Regions from separate parts of the Homo sapiens genome. Here regions 1, 2, 3, 5 and 6 are each linked to region 4. Evidence: promoter capture Hi-C in 16 types of primary human blood cells and fetal thymus (Javierre and others, 2016). All regions are on one chromosome and are shown on one strand. Each heading gives the region's core, a stretch centred on a gene start or on the middle of the fragment in contact. The rest is flanking DNA. Distances are from core to core; before and after follow the strand shown. Region 1 overlaps DLD (dihydrolipoamide dehydrogenase). Region 2 overlaps PNPLA8 (patatin like domain 8, phospholipase A2). Region 3 has its middle 21 kb from the start of PNPLA8. Region 4 holds the start of IMMP2L (inner mitochondrial membrane peptidase subunit 2). Region 5 holds the start of CBLL1 (Cbl proto-oncogene like 1). Region 6 overlaps LOC124901722 (a long non-coding RNA gene).

Evidence for each region. The method cuts DNA at HindIII sites, captures the fragments that hold promoters and counts their contacts. A CHiCAGO score of 5 or more calls a contact.
Region 1: a contact is called between a fragment that was not itself captured here and the fragment with the promoter of IMMP2L in region 4, in 2 of 17 cell types (total B cells and naive B cells). The highest score is 12.9, in total B cells.
Region 2: a fragment that was not itself captured here is called in contact with the fragment with the promoter of IMMP2L in region 4 in 6 of 17 cell types (total CD4 T cells, total B cells, naive B cells and 3 more); the score reaches 9.2 in total CD4 T cells.
Region 3: a contact is called between a fragment that was not itself captured here and the fragment with the promoter of IMMP2L in region 4, in 11 of 17 cell types (total B cells, naive CD8 T cells, naive B cells and 8 more). The highest score is 15.1, in total B cells.
Region 5: a contact is called between the fragment with the promoter of CBLL1 here and the fragment with the promoter of IMMP2L in region 4, in 2 of 17 cell types (fetal thymus and total B cells). The highest score is 6.9, in fetal thymus.
Region 6: a fragment that was not itself captured here is called in contact with the fragment with the promoter of IMMP2L in region 4 in 12 of 17 cell types (naive CD8 T cells, non-activated CD4 T cells, total B cells and 9 more); the score reaches 20.6 in naive CD8 T cells.

What each region holds. Positions count from the first base shown.
Region 1 is chr7:107,893,856-107,897,464 of GRCh38, forward strand. All of the region lies in intron 2 of DLD (dihydrolipoamide dehydrogenase), which reads left to right. Among named protein-coding and RNA genes, the nearest start is that of DLD, 4.5 kb to the left of the region's middle. The HindIII fragment of the contact is 1,229 bases long and covers 968-2,196 here.
Region 2 is chr7:108,508,862-108,512,648 of GRCh38, forward strand. The region is part of intron 4 of PNPLA8 (patatin like domain 8, phospholipase A2); the gene reads right to left. It also overlaps the pseudogene RPL7P32. Among named protein-coding and RNA genes, the nearest start is that of PNPLA8, 15 kb to the right of the region's middle. The HindIII fragment of the contact is 1,864 bases long and covers 1,511-3,374 here.
Region 3 is chr7:108,545,353-108,549,345 of GRCh38, forward strand. It overlaps a transcript of THAP5 not described here. Among named protein-coding and RNA genes, the nearest start is that of PNPLA8, 21 kb to the left of the region's middle. The HindIII fragment of the contact is 1,590 bases long and covers 1,419-3,008 here.
Region 4 is chr7:111,560,268-111,563,896 of GRCh38, forward strand. IMMP2L (inner mitochondrial membrane peptidase subunit 2) reads right to left here and starts at 2,225. Exons shown (of 6, transcript NM_032549.4): 1 at 1,584-2,225. RefSeq lists a silencer at 1,757-2,386. The HindIII fragment of the contact is 1,654 bases long and covers 1,066-2,719 here.
Region 5 is chr7:107,742,743-107,746,826 of GRCh38, forward strand. CBLL1 (Cbl proto-oncogene like 1) reads left to right here and starts at 1,400. Exons shown (of 6, transcript NM_024814.4): 1 at 1,400-1,434. The coding sequence starts at 1,422. It overlaps CBLL1-AS1 (CBLL1 antisense RNA 1), which reads right to left and starts at 1,839. Exons shown (of 2, transcript NR_144537.1): 1 at 1,631-1,839; 2 at 11-661. RefSeq lists enhancers at 1-508, 509-1,027, 1,125-1,344, 1,695-1,874 and a silencer at 885-1,084. The HindIII fragment of the contact is 5,122 bases long and covers 191-4,084 here.
Region 6 is chr7:108,528,446-108,532,439 of GRCh38, forward strand. It overlaps LOC124901722 (a long non-coding RNA gene), which reads left to right. Exons shown (of 2, transcript XR_007060473.1): 2 at 1,006-1,337. Among named protein-coding and RNA genes, the nearest start is that of PNPLA8, 4.3 kb to the left of the region's middle. The HindIII fragment of the contact is 4,198 bases long and covers 1-3,994 here.

The DNA of each region.
Region 1 (3,609 bases), core at 332-2,831, 3.7 Mb before region 4:
GATGGGAAACAAAGGTTTTGAGCAGGGCAGCAATTTCATATGTTTACATTTAAAAAGTTAATTTTGTCCGTTGAGTAAGGTTGTATTGGTTATTTTAACACTGTTTAGAATGATGAGATGACTTTCTTGACATCCTGAATGAAAGTCTTCATGGGTTTATCAAAAGCATGTTTTAAAGATTAGCAGGATCTAAAAGGAAGCTATGGGTCATGGAATTTTCTCCTGTGTACTTTTTTTATATTTTTGAAGTTCCCATAAAGGATATGCATTTTATTTTTTTAAGTATTTAAAACAGAAAGTTAATAGGATTATATTGAAGTATTTTGACCTGTCAGTACCAAGGATATTGATTATTTGCAATGTACTGTTTTGACATTTACTGAATTCACCCATATGGATTATAAGTAACATTGGATGTCTTAAAGCTTCAGTTATAGAAATCATTATCTGGGCAAACTGTGACTATCAGTCTCCCTGCATTCTGTGAAGTAATTTAATCCTGTATCCTCAACTGTTATCCAACCATTATCATTTTGGATATTTTATTTCTAGAGGAAGGGTAGGGGGAGGATTCTAGTAACCCATGACTAACAGTGAGTGAGTGATTTATTCTAGCTTTGAACAGGTCAAGAAATCCTTTTAAAAAAATGCTAATATGATGATGAAGGGAAAAGTTGGACCTCTTATACACTTTGTCTCTTGTTAAATAGGAATCTCATTCTTCTCAACTCATATAACAGGAGAAATGTTAGATTTTCATTTCTAAAGGATATTTTTCATGGCTAACTCTATACCTTTGGCATCACTCAGCAGAGATTATTCAGTGCCTTCTATTTGCCAGGCAGACCCTGAGCCAGAACTTAGATTTTAGTGGAATGAGGCTGAGTGTTCCATAATCAGTTTGGTGATCCCTTGACATTGAGTAAATCATAAATCACTTAGTACCCATGTGTGTAAAGTGTGTAAAAGCTTTGAGTGGATGCAGTAACAAGCATTTTACACACATACTTGTATTTTATCTGAGGTACATGCTTACTGTCTTTTCCTCAGGAATGCAAACTTCATCAGGACAGGGACTGTGTGTGACTGTTTTGTTTAGTATCTAAAGTGATACAGTAGGTAATCAGTACATATTTATTGAATGAATGAACACTGGGGCCTGGTCTGTTTTAATTACTGCTCTGTGGCAAAGCATCCAGTATGGTGTCTTGTACAAAGTAAGTAACCAGCTACAACAGCAATAATATTAACTGATGCATTGAGGGCTTCACTCTGTCTCAGGCACAGATTTAATCCTCATGGCCTTTCTACTACCTGTGTGCTGCTGTTCTCCCCATTTTATAGATGGAAGAGTTAGGTTTTTTAACTAGGAAATGACAGAGCTGGGAGAATCCTTTTGACTTCAGAGCCTACACTGTTAATGTTTTATTGAGTTTTCTTCCTTACATGAGTATTGATTGACTCTCCTGAGGAGTTCAAATCTTATTATGATATAGTCTTGGTTACAACATCTGAGAGATGTCTGAATAGCCTTATGAACCAGGTTCATCAGAATTTGCAAAGTTGTGTGTGTTACTGTTGATGTGACGTTTTATTTCATGACAGCACTTAATCAAACTTGTAACACTTAAACTTACAGCACTTATATCACTCACATTCACTACATTCATTCATTCTTTTATTATTTCGACAAATACTAATATCTACTATGTGTTAGTCATTGGGCTAACTACTGGAGTACCGCAGTGAGCAAGACGGACAAGACCCAGCTTTTATAGAGCTTACAATTCAGTTGAGGGAGACAAACATCCAACATATAATTGTGACAGGGGTCCATAGACTTAAGCATAGGGAGTAATGACATCTATATATGGATTGGGAATGGTCACATAATTCTTTCCTAAGGAATTATGTTGATAGCTAAAAAGGTTGAGAGTAACTCTCGTTACAGGTTGGACCTTTTACTGTAATTCTTTTTTTTATTTAGACTGTAAGAAATAGGGCTATGTCATTTATATATACACACACACAGACACAGCATGTGCAGACACACCCCTCCAAGAGCCTAAAGTAGTGTTTGTAATGTGAAATGCCTGCTGTTAGTGTTTATTTCTAGGTAGATGGAACAGATCGTACATAGGTAGACCAGCATAATTCTATGCATGTAGGCTAAGAGTAGTAATTCACCGTTACTGAAGCTTAAACTGCATGGTATTGGTGAGTAAACAGAACGTGGTAGGAGATGAGGCTGGAGAAATAGTTACTGAAGGAATTTGGATGCTGTACTTAGGAACATGGGCTTTATCTAACAAGACACTGGAGAACCAACAGAGCGTAACAACAGAGAGAATAACATCTGAGTTGGGTTTTAGCTTTGCGGTAGCACTGGGTAGGCTAAAATGGAGGATGTGAATGAGGCTAGAGGCTGCTGGACTGAAGTTTGGAGGTGGATCTGAGAAGGGGAGTGACACTGAGTTGCTAGTATGCACCTAGCACCTCCTTAGGATCTTAACATGCGTACTCTCTGATCCTCACAACCCTAGGCTGCAGGTGTCATCCTTACTATTACCCCCATGTTGTATCAAAGCCCAGAGAGATTGAGTAATTTGCCCAAGAACTTAACGGGGTTAGAGTTTGGAACCCAGGTCTGTTTTACTTCAGATCATTTCTTATTTTACTATATTTCTTCTTTAGGGACCAGGAGGTTATGACTAGAAAGTAGAGTATTGATTTCAGAGGCTGAACAGTTTTGGGTGATAACAAGTATAGAGTGTTAACTATGGGAGGAGGTTACTGAAAAAGACTGGATATTAAGGCCATTGACAATGTAAAAACAACTTCCCTTACCCCTCAACAAAATGTCAACAAATAAACCTTATCAAGTAGTTCTTACATTCAGTAAATTTGGTAATTAATGATTATTGCCTTATGACATCTCTTTTCCTGTTCGTTTTTTCTTTTTAAAAATCTGGTTTTGTTTTTGTTTGTTTTTTTTTTTGAGACAAAGTCTCGCTCTTGTCCCCTAGGCTGGAGTGCAGTGGCGTGATCTTGGCTCACTGCAACTCCACCTCCCGGGTTCAAGTGATTCTCCTGCCTCAGCCTCCCGAGTAGCTGGGATTACAGGTGCCTGCCACCAGCCCGGCTAATTTTTGTATTTTTAGTAGAGATGGGGTTTCACCATGTTGGCCATGCTGGTCTCGAACTCCTGACCTCAGGGGATCCACCCACCTCGGCCTCCCAAAGTGTTGGAATTACAGGCATGAGCCACCGCGCCTGGCCAAAAATCTGATTTTACCTTTATTTTGACATGTGCCTCTTTTTTCTCACTGTGTTTTAAGGTTATTGAAGGTACTGATGAGTCATAAATATTTGATTTCATTCTGTAAAGCATATTCTTGTCATTTTAGTTGAAGTTCTTGATTGTCCTGGAGATTATGGGATCATCTGAGTGTTTTGGAAGGCAATAGAACATAATGGTATATAGGAGCACACATTTCAGAATCTAGAGGACCTTGTTTGAATCCTGGCTAGATTACTTACTAGTTGTGTAGCCTTATGCAAATTATTTAGTTGTTTTCAACCTTTTCTTCCTCTGTTAATGGTAGTATT
Region 2 (3,787 bases), core at 1,193-3,692, 3.1 Mb before region 4:
AATAACGCCGCATACCTACAACTATCTGATCTTTGACAAACCTGAGAAAAACAAGCAATGGGGAAAGGATTCCCTATTTAATAAATGGTGCTGGGAAAACTGGCTAGCCATATGTAGGAAGCTGAAACTGGATCCCTTCCTTACACCTTATACAAAAATCAATTCAAGATGGATTAAAGATTTAAACGTTAGACCTAAAACCATAAAAACCCTAGAAGAAAACCTAGGCATTACAATTCAGGACATAGGCATGGTCAAGGACTTCATGTCCAAAACACCAAAAGCAATGGCAACAAAAAACAAAATTGACAAATGGGATCTAATTAAACTAAAGAGCTTCTGCACAGCAAAAGAAACTACCATCAGAGTGAACAGGCAACCTACAAAATGGGAGAAAATTTTCGCAACCTACTCATCTGACAAAGGGCTAATATCCAGAATCTACAATGAACTCAAACAAATTTACAAGAAAAAAACAAACAACCCCATCAAAAAGTGGGCAAAGGACATGAACAGACACTTCTCAAAAGAAGACATTTATGCAGCCAAAAAATACATGAAAAAATGCTCATCATCACTGGCCATCAGAGAAATGCAAATCAAAACCACAATGAGATACCATCTCACACCAGTTAGAATGGCGATCATTAAAAAGTCAGGAAACAACAGGTGCTGGAGAGGATGTGGAGAAATAGGAACACTTTTACACTGTTGGTGGGACTGTAAACTAGTTCAACCATTGTGGAAGTCAGTGTGGCGATTCCTCAGGGATCTAGAACTAGAAATACCATTTGACCCAGCCATTCCATTACTGGGTATATACCCATATGACTATAAATCATGCTGCTATAAAGACACATGCACACGTATGTTTATTGCGGCATTATTCACAATAGCAAAGACTTGGAACCAACCCAAATGTCCAACAATGATAGACTGGATTAAGAAAATGTGGCACATATCCACCATGGAATACTATGCAGCCATAAAAAATGATGAGTTCATGTCCTTTGTAGGGACATGGATGAAATTGGAAATCATCATTCTCAGTAAACTATCGCAAGAACAAAAAACCAAACACCGCATATTCTCACTCATAGATGGGAATTGAACAATGAGAACACACGGACACAGGAAGGGGAATATCACACTCTGGGGACTGTGGTGGGGTGGGGGGAGGGGGGAGGGATAGCATTGGGAGATATACCTAATGCTAGATGATGAGTTAGTGGGTGCAGCGCACCAGCATGGCACATGTATACATATGTAACTAACCTGCACAATGTGCACATGTACCCTAAAACTTAAAGTATAATAAAAAAAAAAAAAAAGAAAGAAAACCGGTAACTAGCTCTTTTTCCGGCTGGAACCATGGTGGGTGTAGAAGAGAAGAAGAAGGTTCCTGCTGTGCCAGAAACCCTTAAGAAAAAGCGAAGGAATTTCTCAGAGCTGAAGATGAAGCGCCTGAGAAAGAAGTTTGCCCAAAAGATGCTTCGAAAGGCAAGGAGGAAGCTTATCTATGAAAAAGCAAAGCACTATCACAGGGAATATAGGCAGATGTACAGAACTGAAATTCGAATGGCGAGGATGGCAAGAAAAGCTGGCAACTACTTTGTACCTGCAGAACCCAAACTGGCATTTGTCATCAGAATCAGAGGTATCAGTGGCGTGAGCCCAAAGGTCCGAAAGGTGTTGCAGCTTCTTCGCCTTCGTCAAATCTACAATGGAACCTTTGTGAAGCTCAACAAGGCTTCGACTAACATGCTGAGGATTGTAGAGCCATATATTGCATGGGGGTACCCCAATCTGAAGTCAGTAAATGAACTAATCTACAAGAGTGGTTATGGCAAAATCAATAAGAAGCGAATTGCTTTGACAGATAACGCTTTGATTGCTCGATCTCTTGGTAAATATGGCATCATCTGCATGGAGGATCTGATTCATGAGATCTATACTGTTGGAAAACGCTTCAAAGAGGCAAATAACTTCCTGTGGCCCTTCAAATTGTCTTCTCCACGAGGTGGAATGAAGAAAAAGACCACCCATTTTGTAGAAGGTGGAGATGCTGGCAACAGGGAGGACCAGATCAACAGGCTTATTAGAAGAATGAACTAAGGTGTCTACCATGACTATTTCTCTAAGCTGGTTGGTTAATAAACAGTACCTGCTCTCAAATTGGAAAAAAAAAAAAAAAAAAAGAAAACTGGTAACTAAATACAAATAAATTAAGCATTTCTCTTTCCTTTCCTGTAAAATTTGTAAAATTTGCCTTTGAGAATACCCAAATAGCTTCAGTTGATGAAGGAAGGCTCTTCTTTACAGAAGAATGTCAATTATAATGTAGGAGTAACAGAATTAGACATTGGTCATTCTGCAACTCTAATGAAATTATTAGTTCTGGAAATGATTAGGTTAATGGTTGATGAGATAATGCTTCTAGCACAATTGTCCAATGAGAAGCAGATTGTCATCACTTTAACACGGTGGTCATCCTTAGCATTACTAATGGTTGTTCAACTAATTGTCATGTGTGTCTTGATATGATGCATTATGAGGCACATGACATTACCTACAATGTGCTCTAACAACAAAATGTTTAACTCAATCAAGCCATTATATTTAAATTCCAGTGTTCAGGAAATGAAAAGGAAAGAGGAACACTTCAAATAACACTGAGAAGGAAGAAGGCAGGTACATCCAGAAAGCGAGTCTTTCTGCCTGTTAACCAGCCTAATGTCTTCAATTAAATCAGTTTTAAAGGTGCAGGTGAAGAAGGTGTGGCTGAAGGACTGCGTTATATTTTAAGTGACTTGGAGAAATAGTCAGATGCAATGTGTGATCTAGACTGAACCCTCATTTGGATCTAATCAGTTACATAAATAACATTTTCAAACTGGGTACAGGATAAAGGGACATTTACTGATATAGAAAGGTATACATTATATGCTAAAAAACCAGATTATAAAACAACATATACAGAATGAGTTTATTTTGGTATATATGTGCATAGAATGATTTCTGAAGGAATACTGTGCAGACATTACTAATGTTCACCAATACACTGTTTGCTTCCCCTTCCAAGCATACAGAAGGTTGTACTTTTCAGGCCCATGCAATCGGACAGGATAAACAGATTGTGAGTAGAAGAAACCCGTGGCAACTTCTGCTGAAATATTATTTCCTTGCCACAGAAATCAGAGAGGAAGACTCAATTAAAATACAGACAACAGGACAGGATCTAAGTAACCACCACACGGAGGTTCACTGTGCCAAAGAGTCACCCAAACCCACAGTTAACTTTGCATGAGCCAGAAATAAAACTGTTTTGTTAAGTCACTGAGATTTCGGTGTTGTTTGCTATTAGAGCTTAAGGAAGCTTAATCCAATGAACACAAATAAACTCTAATACATTACAGTGGTAATCTGAGGGTAAAATATATTATTTTTATTTTCTTATCTTTTCTTTCTTCTAATTCCCTACAATGCTTTGTGCTGCCTTCTTTCTAAACAGTCAAAGTTCTTCTTTTTAATTAAAAAACATAATGAAAGGAGACCACCTTCATCACAGTGAAAAAATTATCACAGACAATTCCCTAAATGTGGCTGCCATAAATGTAGCATACAAAATAAGTAACTCATTTTTTTTTAGGGCATTACGTATCAGACATAATTCCCTGTATTTAGCTACCTTAAATATGGTAGACACATAAAAAAGTAAAATTGATACAGATGTTTTATAAAAATTCTATCATTTTTAAAAAGCTCAACTCTTGATAATAACAAAAAG
Region 3 (3,993 bases), core at 964-3,463, 3.0 Mb before region 4:
TTTTGAGGGAGTTGGCAGCAAAACATTCCACAGCATTAAGATAGAATGGCAGCTTCTAAGTCTCAAGTGACAATTTGCTGTCAGTTCCATTGTGAAAAGCGTGACTAGTTCAAATATTTACAGACAATTTTAGGAATAATATATCTGTGAAGATAGAGAATAAATTTAGGTAGAGCTTAAGCTTCATAGAATAAAATCCTAATCAAGAGATAAGTCATTCAAGATGAAGATAATTGTCTAGAAAAATATCTATTTAGAAAAATATCAAAGTCTTGACTTAAAAATTCAATTTAGAATTTAGATAATTCCAACATAAGGAAGATTTAGGAGTGGCTGATAGATCACCTTTTGTACTGTTGGGTTATTACATTTTTGAGTTTCATTGATTTATTTGTTAATCATTCTATATATTGCAATTAAAAATAGGAGTCTTAGAGTCAATATTTTGTGACTTTCTGAGTGGGACCTCAAATAGAAAATAGTGATATGTGTATTTTTAACCATCTTAAATTTCTTTTCTCTCATTTAAGTCTTATATTTTCTAAATTTCCCATCTCCTTTGACATTCTAATTTCTATGGTTTTTCCTCTATTTGCTCTTAAAATGGATAGAGTTGAGATACACAGTAGGGCAAAAGAGCCAGCACAGAGTTAGCAACAGGTTTTGAGATTGAGTAATGTAAAGTTCCCATTAGGTTAACGATCTACAATATTTATTAAATAGTAAATAGATCTAAGCATTTACTAAATAGTACTTATTAAATAGCATTTATTAAATAGTAAATAGATCTAAGCATGATGCAGTTCACTTTATCAACCATCTGTCAATCAGATAAGGCCACAAGAGATAGCATATTATTATCATCCTGTTTTTCTGTAAAAATTTGAGGGCTTGCTAGGTGCCAAAAACAAGTTTTGGCCTCCACCTCTTAGGAACTTGCAGAGCAGTCACAGAGACTGATACATAAAGAGGCAATTACACAGCAAAGTGTGATTTAGTTATAATAATGAATAGAATGTGTTCAGACAGGCATAAACAACCAGTTGGTGTGTACACCTGGAACAGGTGATATTTGAACTGGTTCTTCAGTGATACATAGGACCCTTACCCACACCGCTGCCCCTGAAAAGTTCTGGTTTCAGTTTTGCTCCAGATTAACAACAACAACAAAAATAGGAAGAGGAATCGTAAGGGGACGAGGAGGAAGAAGAGAAGGAGAAGGAGGAATTTGTGGGATCATTTTATCTAAGTTTGGAAGCAAGTTTTCCCATATCAAGAATTATTGTTTAAAACCAGGGTGCTCCATTCTCTATTCTTAATAGTGCTGTCGCCTCACTTAGTATTTTGCTATTGCTAAGGAATGAGCAGTTTACCTTTGCATGACTTGAGCTGATGTTGTTGTCTATTTTTTATTAAAAAGCTTTGTTTACAGTACTCTTCAGAAATACATTACTGTGATGATACCTAGTAATGTGCTTCTACCTCCTCACTAAATTATATTACCAATGCAAACCAGATGTTTCAGTCTCGCTTGCATTGGTAATAAAATAAATCGGAGCTGGATCCCAGCTCTATGCCCCTCCTATATTAAGGAACATTGTTTTCCCTTTGTGTTTTATCATTTCCCAAATTAAGGAAACTATCCAGGTGGACTGGAAGTTGATATGCTGAAGGGTGTTTCAAAGCACCAAGTTTTAACAAGGCAAAACAAATGCTTCTTGAGCATATTATTTAATGTTCCAAAAAAGGAATAGACATTTCTTATTTAATGACATTCTGGGAATTGTTTGAACAATTTGTATAGTGTCCGTCATCTGTCACTCTCTACTCCCTCAAAAATTCTTTCTCATCTTTTAATACCACACTGATGAACGGATTAACTTATTTTTCATCCGTGGTTCAGGTACATTCTAGTCTCATGCCAGTGAATTCATTTTCATTTAGACTAACCAAGGTAGCAAGCTCAATGAAATTAACCTCATTTCACATTTATAATATTCTAGTTCATTGTGCATATTTAAACACCACACATCTTTATTAATGGAAAACATGAACCATGCACTGAATAAAACTAAAGATTAGGTTCTCTCTGAAATTAGCTCCTACTCCATTGCTTCTCATTTTGAATTATATTTCTGTAACCAAAAGCAAGACTTGAACTTACATATTATTTTCCAGCGATCCAAAAGAATACTTACTTAATCCCTAAATTTATTTTCTGATATTCTATATAGTAATTTGAACATTAAAAGTTATTTTCCCTAAAATTATGAGGCAGTATTCGTCTAAGATTTGTAAGAATTCTGTGTACAGTTTATCAAGCCTGCTTTTAGATATGGGACACTTTTTCTTTTAGTCCTAGTTCTATTCCTGATTAATTAAAATCACATAGTTGAGCTGTTGTTTGTGTATTAACCTGTCTAGAATAATCGATTTTCCATTTCTATGTTTCAGGGTTTTTAGATGATAAAATACGTAAAGAGCTTTTGTTTCTCTAAAGAATGGCACAAGGTAAGATGTAAGCTATTATTGCCCTGAGCAGTGGTGTTTAAATTTTGAGGGGTAATTTATCCCTTTCTTAATCTTAATAGAAATTGTGAAAAATGCCTATGCACATGAAATTTTGCATTAAATTTTAGAGGATCCAATGAGCCTCCTAAAAGCCTCCCATGGTCCAGTCCCCAACCCTGGAGGGAATGCTACTGCACCTTTTCTAGGTACTGGTTATAACATGCCAGGAGAGATTTAAAGTAGCATTATTTACACTACAATTCAAGTTAATAATTTAACAGGACCTGCCTGAATAATGGGACAATAATATACTCATGGAGCTGCAAATTGGTTAATTTATATGCTGACTGTCTCAATGTGGAGCCAGAATTAGACCCAGCAAAACAGCTCTTGAAATATGGCTTAGTAGGTGCTATTGTTCACCTGAAAAATATTTATGGAGCTCTGACTTTGTACTAGGAATTGTGCTAGACAATGAAGCTAAAAAGCTCATAAAAAGCTTATACTTTGGGGATAAAAAAACAAGTAAAGAAGCAATAATGACACTGGATGATAGAAATGATAATAGGATTAAGTAAAAGGAGCTAACAGACTAAATATGAAGGTTATCTGGAAGGGCAAATGAAGGCTTTCTAGATAAAATAACGAATAGGTCAGCCCTTGTATTAGTCTGTTCTCATGCTGCTAGTACAGACATAATCCAAGACTGGCTAATTTATAAAGGAAAGAGGTTTAATTGACTCACAGTTCCACATGGCTGGGGAGGCCTCACAATCATGACTGAAGGCAAATGAGGAGCAAAGTCATGTCTTACAAGGCAGCAGGCAAGAGAGCTTGTGTAGGGGAACTCCCCTTTATAAAGCCATCAGATCTCATGAGACTTATTCACTATCATGAGAACAGCGCAGAAAAGACCTCCCCCATGATTCAATTACCTCCCACTGGTCCCACCCAGGACACATGGGAATTATGGGAGCTACAATTTAAGATGAGATTTGGGTGGGGACACAGCCAAACCATATCAGTCCTGAAGGATGAATAGGAGTGAGCCCATAGCTCTTACACATATTCTTAAAAACCCAGTGTTCTACAAGCCTTATTGCAAACAAAACAAAACAAAAGCCTGCAGTCCTAGTTCATTTTCTGCTCTCCAGAGTCAACCGCTTCTAATCATATTGCAGATTCTTTGTGTATTTACCTATATTTCTCAAAATAACATGCTTAATACACACACACACACACACACACACACACACACACACACAAGTACTTTTTTTTTTTTTGAGTCTCGCTTTGTCACCAGGCTGGAGTGCCGTGACAGGATCTCAGCTCACTACAACTTCCACCTCCCGGGTTCAAGTGATTTTCCTGCCTCAGCCTCCTGAGTAGCTGGGACTACAGGTGCACACCACCACGCCCAGCTAATTTTTGTATTTTTAGTAGAGACGGGGTTTCACCGTATTGGCCAGTATGGTCTCGATC
Region 4 (3,629 bases), core at 975-3,474:
GAAAAAGACAAAGAACTATTCTAGCTTAGATCTTTTAAATGAGGCTAAATGCACAGAAACCCATGCAAGTTAAAAATGGTCTACTTTCGAATTTATTTTTCTAAGTACATCATCCTTTACACTCTCCATGATTCCTAATATTAGGTCCTTCTTATGGAACAACTACAAAAGTTATCCTCATCTAATTATTATACTCGTACACTGGAAAATGACTATAACATTATTCATTATAGGAAACAAATCATCAAGGTCAGCCATCCTTGTAAGTTTATTACTGAAAGTACTAGAAAGGCGGAATAATAATTCTGTTCTCCCACAACACTGTATAGACCTGCAAACCACTATGATCAGTAGTACAGGGAAAGTCTTGTAAATTAACATGTAACTATTGAGAAAATCCACAAAACTGGTGAAAGGCCTACCCCAAAACAGCCATCTCCAATACAATCTCATCATTCTCACCATCCTACTTTTATCAAAGTGCTGATAAAAGTGCGTAGCACATGGTAAGAGAGAATTAGCTATTGAATCAATGAAGGAACCCATTATCAATAAACAATCACTTCCTGTTTTCCATAAATTATGTGGTCACCTATCACTTGAGCACAAACAAATAGGCACGTTCAGGACACAGGCAGCCAGTATCAGAATAGGCAGCCTATCACAGAGGGCAATTCTACTTTTCCTGTGTAAGAATCCAAGAATGCAGTTTTACTACATTCCTGCTTGTAGCTAATCTGAATTTCAACTAATTTAAAACGGTTATTTATATGTGACATATAGGATGCATAATGAGCTCCCAACCTTGTGAGAGGAGCTGTGTTTCATTTCACCATACAGGGGAGAGGGAAGCAGTGTATTAAAGAAGTGATAGAAAAGTCCCACAGAAGAACCAATGAAATAGACCACACTGAAAATCACAGTAAGCCTCAGAGAACTTCAGTGTCCTTTTTGGCAACTTTTCAAAAGTGAATGGAATGCTTGCCAGGAGGTACCAAGAGTGAAAGCCCAGAGAAAAAGGCCCAGCCTGGTCATCTCTCTCCCCTCAAAACATCTTCTTCTGTAAGCTTGAGAGATCCCAAAGAACTTCAACACTTGTAATCTTGTTACTAACTTTATGCTTTGGGGTCCTAAAGGATTTTTTCAGGAGTACCCTTTTAAAATGTAAACATCCCTAGGGGGGTTACTGTTCATTATCAAACAGGACCTGGATTCTTTAGTGCTATGGTCTCAGGGATTAGTCAAAGCTGGCTAATAAGATAGGGGCCGGAGACAGACAACTAGAGAGGACCAATGTTCCAAGGTAAAAACAGGTAAAGGGGAAGTGCAGTTTTCTGTCGGGTCAAGGGGCTAAAAGGGATCCACATGCCCAAGCTGTTAAACTCTATAGACTGTGTGAGGCTGAAAACAGTCCGGGGCCTGGAGCCTGTGACTTTGAAGGTGGGTCCTCCAGTTCCCGATGAAAAGGTAGAATCTGGGCCCAAGTTCCCCACGAGCAGTTCTGGACATCTAGCCCTTCTCTCTCTCGCTCGCTCTCAGGATAAAGTCCTAGGTCCTTCCACCCCTGACCATTCCTTACTTACCCTTTCTCCCGCTCTTCCTCGGTGAGAAGGGGTAAGTGGTTATTTTGTGCCCTCGCCCAATTTGGCCAAAACCCTAAAAGTAAAAAACGACAGACAGACACGTGCTTTAAAATCATGTTGTTCAAGCCTGACGCTCTCCCACCACCTGCCCAACACTTCCAGGCAGAAGGCAGCGCGCCCCCACAGCGCTCCCTCACGGCCAGAGCCGGGGGCCGGACTAGGCCCCTTTGTGAGGACTGGGAGAGGGCGCGTTGTTGGGGCGCCGGCTCGGCGGGGAGGAGCGGGCCAGCTCCGGGCCAGGTGTGCCGCCTGTGGCGCCGGTTTCTCAACCTAGTTAGCCAGTGGCACCAAGAAGAGGACTAGGCTGGGGTGGCCGCCGCACGCGCCTCAGATAAACACGCGCACGCACACATGCTCGCGATCACGCAGGACTCGCGGCCGCGCACCCCTCCGCCTCCCGGCAACGCCCGCCCCGCCGGGGCCGGGGCCGACTCCCAGGGAAGGGTCCCCAGCCCAAGAGACCACCAAGGGTCGGCGGCTACGCGCCCGCCGACCCCTGCCAGCCTCACAGCCCCCCACCCGCCGCCGGACGCCGGGCGCCCGCCCTCCGCACCCGCTGCGCAGCTCAGCCCGGGGGAAGTCCCCGCGCAGACCCCGCCCTCCGCCGGCGGCAAGCTCCGCCCCGCTGCCCCGTCGCGCGCTGGCCGCCCGAAGCTCCGCCCCCGGCGGAAAACTGGTCTCTGGACCGCCCGCCCAGGTCGGGCTCAAAATGCGGCGTGGATCTGAAAGGATCAAACACAACACTAATTCAGCAAGCTATTATTGAGCACTTGCCCTAAGCTCAGCAACGTACTAATGGGGGAGACTACAATAAAGAGCCGAAAAGTCTATGAAACTGTGTCTTCAGCTCTTCCTCTTGTTTTAGAAGCCAGGAAACAGAGAACCCTCACAGTTACTTAAGTACAGGGCAGTAGTGGCAAAGCACCTCACTAGCGATCTCTGGGCAACTCTTCATTTCATTTTTTCCTACTCATGAGCACTCAGGAAAACTATTCAGTTTTGCTGCCTCCAGGTAAAACAAAGTGAGTAACACAGGACAGGCGGTTTACTTGAGAGAAACGGGAATTTCATACTGAAGCTTTTGCCCTCAAATGGTACAAACTCTTTTTTTTTTTTTCCTGAGACGGAGTCTCGCTCTGTCGCCAGAGCGACACTGCAATCTCCGCCTCCCGGGTTCACGCCATTCTCCTGCCTCAGCCTCCCTAGTAGCCGGGACTACAGGCCCCCGCCACCATGCCCGGCTAATCTTCTTGTATTTTTAGTAGAGATGGGATTTCACCGTGTTAGCAAAGATGGTCTCCATCTCCTGACCTCGTGATCCGCTCACCTAGGCCTCCCAAAGTGCTAGGATTACAGGCGTGAGCCACTGCGCCCGGCCGAATGGTACAAACTCTTAACTGGGTTATTACAACCTACAAAGAAACCTTCTTATCCATGTTATTAATTATCCTAATTCAATGTGGTTTAAAATGTTGATGAAAGTACCCAAATCATGGTGCTCCAACAAGCTGGATGCCAACCAGGTACTCGTAAGTACTTGCAATTACAGGTGCGATATTTTCATTCCATATCATCCCAAGATGCCCTTCCTTCACGTGAAGCAGCCAGAAAGATCAACTACCAGATTCCGCATGATTGAGGAATTGATAAATAGAAAGGGAAGACCGAAACCGGCCAAATTTTCCCTTCGAAGTGAAACTTGAGAAACTTGCGTGCATTTTACCTGAGTTCCTTTCTCAGCAGATAAACTGTCAGACCTCCCAGATAGTGTCAAGGAAATGCAACTTTCCAGAACACTACATCTGGACAATGAGGTGCATCTGCTGCCTGTTCACAAACTCCTCTTCCTTACCCCTCCATAATTCCCTGCTATAGAAAGCCCTAACTTTAGTCTCCCTAAGACATGTTTGAGACTGGTCTCCCTGCCAGCATCACCTGCATTAAAGCCTGTCTTCCCTGGCAATACTCGTTGTCTCAGGGACTGGT
Region 5 (4,084 bases), core at 150-2,649, 3.8 Mb before region 4:
TACAAAGATATAACACATCGCTACACATACTTTATTTGCAATTCAGTACCATGAAAACATTTCTCTAAGAGGTCAATGTAATAATCTTTTATTGATATAGGAACTCTGGCACTGAAAGCTTGAATAACCCAAGGTAATGATGTCGTCACCAAGGGAGGACAAGAATAGAACCCAAATCCCTTGACTCCCAAGCTTGTGTTTTCCATTAATTGTGCTCCTTTCTATTCATCCAAGAGCATCAAGTGTAAAAGGCTGGAGAAAGGAGTGGACACAAATGAGCCAAGTCCGCAAGGTGGAGACTGCACTGAAGGTCCTAGGAATCGCCCCTTGGCACTTTCCTTTTGTGTTGGCTGAGGAAGATGAAAGCAGCAACAACCACAAACTCCTGGGACCAAGAACTGGAACTAGGTACTGCTTGTTGTGGTAACTCTCTTCCTCATTTTAGGCCTTTCCTTTTTAACCTCTCCTTCCGGCCAAGCCTTCGCGCTCTCTTCCCCTCCCTCGGTTTCTATCCGCTCCCGTTAGCTCCACTCCGCACATTCCTGCAAGGTGTCCCCGTTAAGAGGAGGCAGCTGCGCCGCACTGGCTCTCCACCCTCCATCCGGCCCTGGCGCCCAGTCGTCAGGTGTTCGAGAGGTTCGTAGCGTCACAAGCGCTCTCCCTAGAAAGTGAGTGGCAGTCAAGCATTATAAACGTGTTTCAACTGTAAAGAGACTTAAGAGATGGGAACCGGGGCATATACCAAGTTAGCTCTGCGTGGGTCTAGGTAGCTCGTCACGACAAAGCAAAATTTAGACAAGCGTTGAGACTTTCCTTCTAGCTCCGAGTTTCACAGCTCCGCCATCCCCTGAGCAACCTCCCACTGGAGGGCGCCTTCCGGAGCGCGCGTGTTTACACTTTTGCTACACCAGGCGGAGGAAACAAGCGCTCGCTGACCCCGGGGGATTCCAAACCGTTACTCCGCCCGCCGGGGTGGGGCCAGCGCAACGGCCGAGCCTGCGCAGCCAGCCGGCTCCGGGGGCCCCGCGCACTACAAGTCCCAGAAGGCAGCTCTCCGCGGGGCGGGCAGTCGCCTTATCTGCTTCTGGCTCATTTTTACCACTGCTCTCCCCTTCCCCGGTCCCCCTGGTGTCCTTTCCACAGTTAAAGGCTACTTTCTCTTGAAGCACATGAGGAGAAGCCTTAGCAACCTCAATACCGAAGTTCTTCGCGCGCTCGCTCTTTCTGCCTCCGCCCGAACTATGCCTGAGTCCCTCACAGGAGTTGGATAGTAGAGGCGAGAGAAGGAAGTCTTTGCAGGCCAAAATTGGGACAACCTGCTTGGACTTCCGCCTCCCGGCCTCCGGAAGGCAGTGCGCACGCGCTCGCTGCGACTCCGGCGCGGTTGACTTCCGCTCCCACTGTGCTCTGCGAGCCGAATCATGGATCACACTGGTAAGGAGGCGGAGGCAGTGGGGGTCCCGGTTCCAAGCCCCCTTGGCCGGCCTGGGGCTGGTCGCACAGCAGGCAAAAGGGATTATGCTCGCCCCACAACACTAGGGTGTGGCAGTGAGAAGAAATCTCACAGATGCCTTCCTGTGCCCGGCAGGGGCCTGCGGTTTCCTGGCCTACCGTCTGGTGTGGTACCTACCTCCTCCGTGCCGGCAACAACCGCTCCTACTCTGGTTCTGCTGAGCTCCGAGCCCGGACCAGTGGGCGATGTAGGCCTTCGGGAAGGGAGAGCCCCGGCTCTGTTTTATTTAGCCCAGCTGCTCTGGCCTACGTTATGGAGACTGGCGGGTAGATTGCGGTCTCCGAGTCGCGGAATCCTCTTTACGCTGGGAGTGGACGGGCGAGAATGGGTTGGAGACTTCCTGCTGTCTCAGTCAGCTTTGGGCGGGTGCTGCAGTGGTCACCCCCTGTCGTCTCTCCGATCCTTTATGGACTAGAGGGGTGAAAGAAGGGAGTCTGATAGAGTTTTTGGAATCAAACTCGGAGCAGTTTTTCTACCTAAACCAAAAGCATGCCCCGCGCTTCGGCTGAGGTCCTTACTCATCATTTGAGGGTATTTACAAAGAGGAGTTTAAAATCAAGGCATTCTCATACTTTTCTCCAAGTAAGAGTGGCTCCACCCTTTGTTATGTATTTTCTGGCTTTTGCTTCTTTGTGGTTCTTGGATATTGAATGAGTGCTCTTGGAGTTATGTGCCCCATACATTTATAGCGACCGTATCACAAATAGAGAAAAAAAGGCTTTTTCTTGAGTATTGAGTTGTCCTCACTCATCAGATATCTACTTGGTTATATAATTAGGTGTGTATGTTTATTTATGTAGGTGTGTATGTTTATTTATGCAAGATACATGCAGATATCTATAGGTCGGGAGATGGAAGATGGAATGGTAAACGAGACGGACCAGGTCCGTGATAGAACTTCTGTTTTATGGAGGAACACAGACAATACGTTCTTTTTTTTTAAATTTATTATTTTTTTAATGTTTGCGGATTATTTTGAAGAAAATAAACGAGTGCTGTGGAGAGATTCATAGGACGAAATTTCAGAGAGGGTTGTTAGGAATGGTCTTTGTGGAAGCTAAGATCTGATGGATGAGAAGAACCCAGCCCTGGGAAAAAAGCAAGAGGAAGAGCATTTCCAGCAAGTGCGAAGGCACTGAGGTAGGAAGATACAGTGAAGTCAGCTGCAGCCTCCTAATAGCCAGAGGGTAGGAGTCCTGAAGTGAGATTGGAAAGGAGGGCAGCAGGCACATCATTCAGGTCATTGAAAGCCGTGGTAAACGTTTGAATTTTAATTTAAGTGAATATGAAGCCATTGAACAGAAGTGGAGGAGGAACACAGTCTCTTAAAAAATACAATAGGCTGTTCTATGAAGAATGGTGTAAGAGAGGGAGGTAAGAATGATGGAAAATAGCTGATTGCAGTAGACGGGAAGGGAAGGTTGGTTTGGTGAAAATGAAGGAGAATGGGCAGCTTCAGTAAATACTCTGGTGGTGTTTGAAGGAATGTGAGAGAAAGGAGAAATGCCTAGGCTTTTGGTTTGAGCAACTAGGTAGGGTCCATTATTGAGCTGAGGAAAACTTGGGGCAGAAAACAATCTTTTTTTGTAGAGGTGAGACGGGAATTTGGGAACAAGTGTTTGGTCTTGGACTGCTAGTGTGAGATAACTACTGAGACACAGGAGAGATGCCAAGTGGAGATGAGAGGAAAGATCTGCACTGAAAATACGTATTTGGAAGTTAGTACCTTTATTTATAGCTGGTATTTTAAAGCATGAGGACAGATGAGACCACTTAAGAAGGGTGTGTTCAGAGGAGAAGCCGGCCTAGAACGAGGCTGTAAAGAATTCCAGTGTTTGGGAATTTATAGAGTTGAAACTGGGATTTTGATGTTAGAATAGCAAACATTCAACTTTAGGAAAGTAATTCTTATTTGAGCCCACTACTGGAATTATGAGTCAAGTTCCTGCCATAGTTTAGAGGCTATTATGTTAGGAAATCATAATAGGGGTGAGTGTAAAGAGTGTTTATTATCTTAATTCTTGAAGTTTAGAGATTGCCTAAGGAAGTAAAACTCATCTTAACATGAAAATACTCACGAATGAGCTGACCACTTAAAAAATTAGTTCCCTCTCAGATGTCCCTTCTGCTTAACACTAGCTTCTTACCTATTTTATTTTTTTTAAATGAATCAATCTCTTTGATGTTTAGTATCAGAAGACAGTATCAAATACTGTGCACTGATTGTGAAATAAAATTATAAACCTTGTAGAAGATTCTGGTTTTCATGAAATTCGTAAACATGAATTTGATAATTGTTTAAATCACAAAGGCTTTGACAAATGAGGAAATGCCACTTAGCTAGATAATTGAAGAATCATGACAGGATAGGCATCTCAAAAGAATAATTGTAATATTAAAGGATTAAGAGGTCCTTGGGGAAACAGATGAAACCCTTGAACATTATGCAAAAATGACCCATTTTATGATCATACCGAAACATTCAAATGTGAAAATGAAGGTGTTCTAATAGAATCTTGCCAGAAAAATTACTCCAAGGGGCTCCCCATTAACACTGGATTTATTCTTTGG
Region 6 (3,994 bases), core at 691-3,190, 3.0 Mb before region 4:
AGTGCCTTGGTCATGCTGTTGGCTTAGCTCCCCTTCCACCTTGTCCTCCTAAAGATTTGTTTGTCCTTCAGCCAGGAAAATCTTACCTCACTACTCATAGAATGAATCATTCCTTCCACCTGTGCTCACTTCTCTTATTGCCCTTGCTGCACAGTATTATAATTTATTTGTTTATATGCCTGCCAGTTTCCTGCAGTCAAGGAGCGTAAGGTAAACTGTATTGTCTGGATCTAGCGTAACATCCAACAAATAGTAGACTCTCTAAAATTCTGTATTATTGAATTGATTTTTAGTTTCATTTAGATTACTAGTTTGATAAGTTAAAAATGGAAAATAAAACCCATTTATGATTCTTTTGATGTTGGGCAGTTTTGAGACAAAAGAGAATTATATTTAATTTCAAACAAATTCAGTAGTATGCAAAATTGGAGATTATCTTGTGTATAATAGCAGACTAATGCCTTCAGGAAATCATCTATACTTGAAATAATGCTAAATACAGTAATTGTTCAACGCTATATTCTTTGGAAGCTGGGTAAAAGAGACATCACATTGCCCTGTATCAGTTACTTGCTATGCTCATTCTATTTATAAGGTTTATTATTGATTTATCTATTTTAGCTCTTCTACATCCATAGTCACTCCTTTCTGGTCTGGTTCATAGCTTTTTAAAAGAGCTGCTAATATCTTTATTGTTCAAATAAAACTTAACATTATAACCAAAATAAATTAAGCCATATTGGTGCAAGATATCTCTCCAGATCACCTAAGGGAGGGATATGCCAGAAAATAATTCTAGAAGAATAATCACCATGGTAGGCTGAAGAATGGCCTTCTAAAAAATGCCCATGCCCAAATCCTTAGAACCTGTGAATATGCTACTTTACATGGCAAAGGGGACTTTTTGCAGATGTAATTAAGGGTACAGATTTTAAGAAAGGAAAATAATCCTGGATTATCTCTGTGGGCCCAATCTAATCACATAAATCCTTAAAATCAGTACAGATGTGGCAAAGCGAAAGTCAGAGAGATCAAGATAATGAGAGGAACAATTTGACAAGGAATGCAGGTTGCCATAGGGAACCAAGAGCGGCTCCTGACTGACAGCCAGCAAGGAAATGGAGACCTCAGCCACACAGCCGCAAGGAGTTGAATTCTGTCAACAACCTAAATAAAACTGAAAGCACACTCTTCCCCAGAGGTACCAGACAAAAGCTCAGGTAAGCTGACACCTTGATTTCACCCTTATGAGACCTGGAACAGAGGAACCAGTCAACTCTTGCTGGACTTCTGACCTACAGAACTGTGACATAATAAACTTGAGTTGTTTTAAGCCACTAAATTTGAAGTGTTTTGTTTCAGCAGCAATAGGAAATTAATATAATTATCTTTATATAGTTTGAAAACATGAAAGCAAGGATTTTCTGTTTTGATCCTTAGCACCAAGGCACAGCAATTATTAATAAAGTGTGGCCCGGAGCGTTGGCTCATGCCTGTAATCCCAGCACTGTGGGAGGCAGAGGCGGGTGGATCACCTGAGGTCAGGCGTTGGAGACCAGTCTGGCCAACATGGTGAAACCCCATCTCTGCTAAAAATACAAAAATTAGCTGGGCGTGGTGGCGGGCACCTATAATCCCAGCTACTCAGGAGGCTGAGGCAGGAGAATGGTTTGAACCCGGGAGGAGGAGGTTGCAGTGAGCCGAGATCGCGCCAATGCACTCCAGCCTGGGTAACAGGGTGAGGCTCCGTTTGAAAAAGAAAAAAAAAAAAGTTAATTGTTCAGTAACTATTTGGTGAGTGCATATTGAAAGAATTGAATTTATTCATTCAGCCATTATCTACTGAGTGCTTACTATGTGCCTGGCACCAAGCTATTTGCTGGAGGTAAAAAATTGAAGCACTGTCACGGAACTCAAAATATAACCTTAGGTAATAATACTATTAATGTAGAAAGAGCACTAATGGAGACATGAACTGGATATTATGAGTCTAGAGCAGGAATACCTACCCCAGCCTGTGGTGTTGGGAAGGAACTTCTGAACCAAGTCTTAAAAGATGTTGCTAGCAAGACAGATGGCAGTAGTGGAGTGGTAAAAGTGGGAAGAGAAAGGAGAGAGCTTTACAGAGAGAAGTGATGTTTGTAATAAAAGGCAATAAGGCAGGAAAAAACATAGTGCATGAAGGGAACTATGTGTTCCATGTTTGTACTGGAAATGTAATATAAGGATTGGGTGAGAGCTGAAGAACTTGGACCTGATCTTCTGGGTGATCAGAACCACTGTCAGATTCTAAGACAAAAGAATAACATGGTGGAATTTAAGTTTTAAGTACATTTTTTTGGTACCATGAGAGGGCAAGATTTGAAGAAGATGAGGAGTCCTGTTGTTGTCATATTTACTGTTTTCCTATTTAACCTTTTAATAAAAAAATCATTCTTTCTCCACCTTAAAAACTGCCTTAAAGAATTTGCCTATTTATACCTGCAGTTCAGGCCTCTCTATCAGGCTTGAGACCAGTTTATCCAGCTTCCTGCTGGGACATCTTAGAGGAACTAAACCAGTGGGAAATAAACCAGTTATATATAAGGTGATTTTCTGGGTGAAGAAAGAATAGTTTTATTAATAGACAGGTTATAGCTAAGGTTTTGGCACAAGAGTAGCAACATAAAATTAAGATATTAAGGACACATAATTGTATTTTCTCCAACTTACTTTTGAATCTGAGTTAGATTTTACCTTTTACCTAATACTTTTGTAGGTTATTCCATGCCTTGCTTATTTCTATGACAACTCATCCAGTTGAAAAGTTGGAATAAGTCTAAAAATGCCCCCATATTCAATTGCATGTTAATTTCTTTTCTTTCTTTCTTTTACTTTTTTTTTTTTTTTGAGTCAGAGTCTCACTCTGCCGCCCAGGCTGGAGTGCAGTGGCGCGATCTCGGCTCACTGCAACCTCCACCTCCCAGGTTCAAGCAATTCTCCTGCCTCAGCCTCCCAAGTAGCTGGGATTACAGGTGCTTGCCACCACGCCCAGCTAATTTTTGTATTTTTAGTAGAGACGGGGTTTCACCATGTTGGCCAGGCTGGTCTTGAACTCCTGACCTCAGGTGATCTGCCCGCCTCTGCCTCCCAAAGTGCTAGGATTACAGGTGTGGGCTACCACACCCGGCCTCTTTTACTTTTTTATTTGAGATGGAGTTTCGCTCTGTTGCCCAGGCTGAAGTGCTGTGGTGTGATCTTGGCTCACTGCAACCTCTGCCTCCCAGGTTCAAGTGATTCTCCTGCCTCAGCCTCCCAAGTAGCTGGGGTTACAGGCATGTGCCACCACTCCCGACTAATTTTTATATTTTTAGTAGAGACAGGGTTTCACCACGTTGGCCAGGGTGGTCTTGACCTCCTGACCTTGTGATCCGCCTGCCTCAGCCTCCCAAAGTGCTGGGATTACAGGCATGAGCCACTGTGCCCTGGCGCATGTTAGTTTCTTATAGGCAAGTATCAATGTTTGCATTGCTTAACTTCAGACTTAAGGCAAGGTTGGAGTCCTGTCCTCCCTCACCATTTACTGGTTGTGATACTGTGGGCAAATAATTCCCACAAGCCTCCCTTTTTTCATTAGTAAAATTTTCAGTATCCCAATTCAGTAATGTAAGTGCATTATGATCTATGGTCAGAGAATGAGGTACTGTGATCAAACAGCATGGTCAGACTACTCCAAACCCCTCAACAGGGTCCTAGTGTGAAAACAGCATCTCTCATAGAACCACAGAATTTGTTTTGGGGAAAAGTTGTTCACGGAAGGAGAGAAATACAGGGCAGAAAAACAAAAAGGCCAGGCAACACAGCAAGCAGATAAACACTGGTTGGAATGTATGAATGAACCAGTGCCTAAATGCGATGGAGCAAGTAGCACTTTTCCTTTAATGCCAATCTATAGTTTCAAAGAACTTAGAGGTTTGTTGGGGACCAACAATGTTTGGAAAGGACAGTGCCAGGG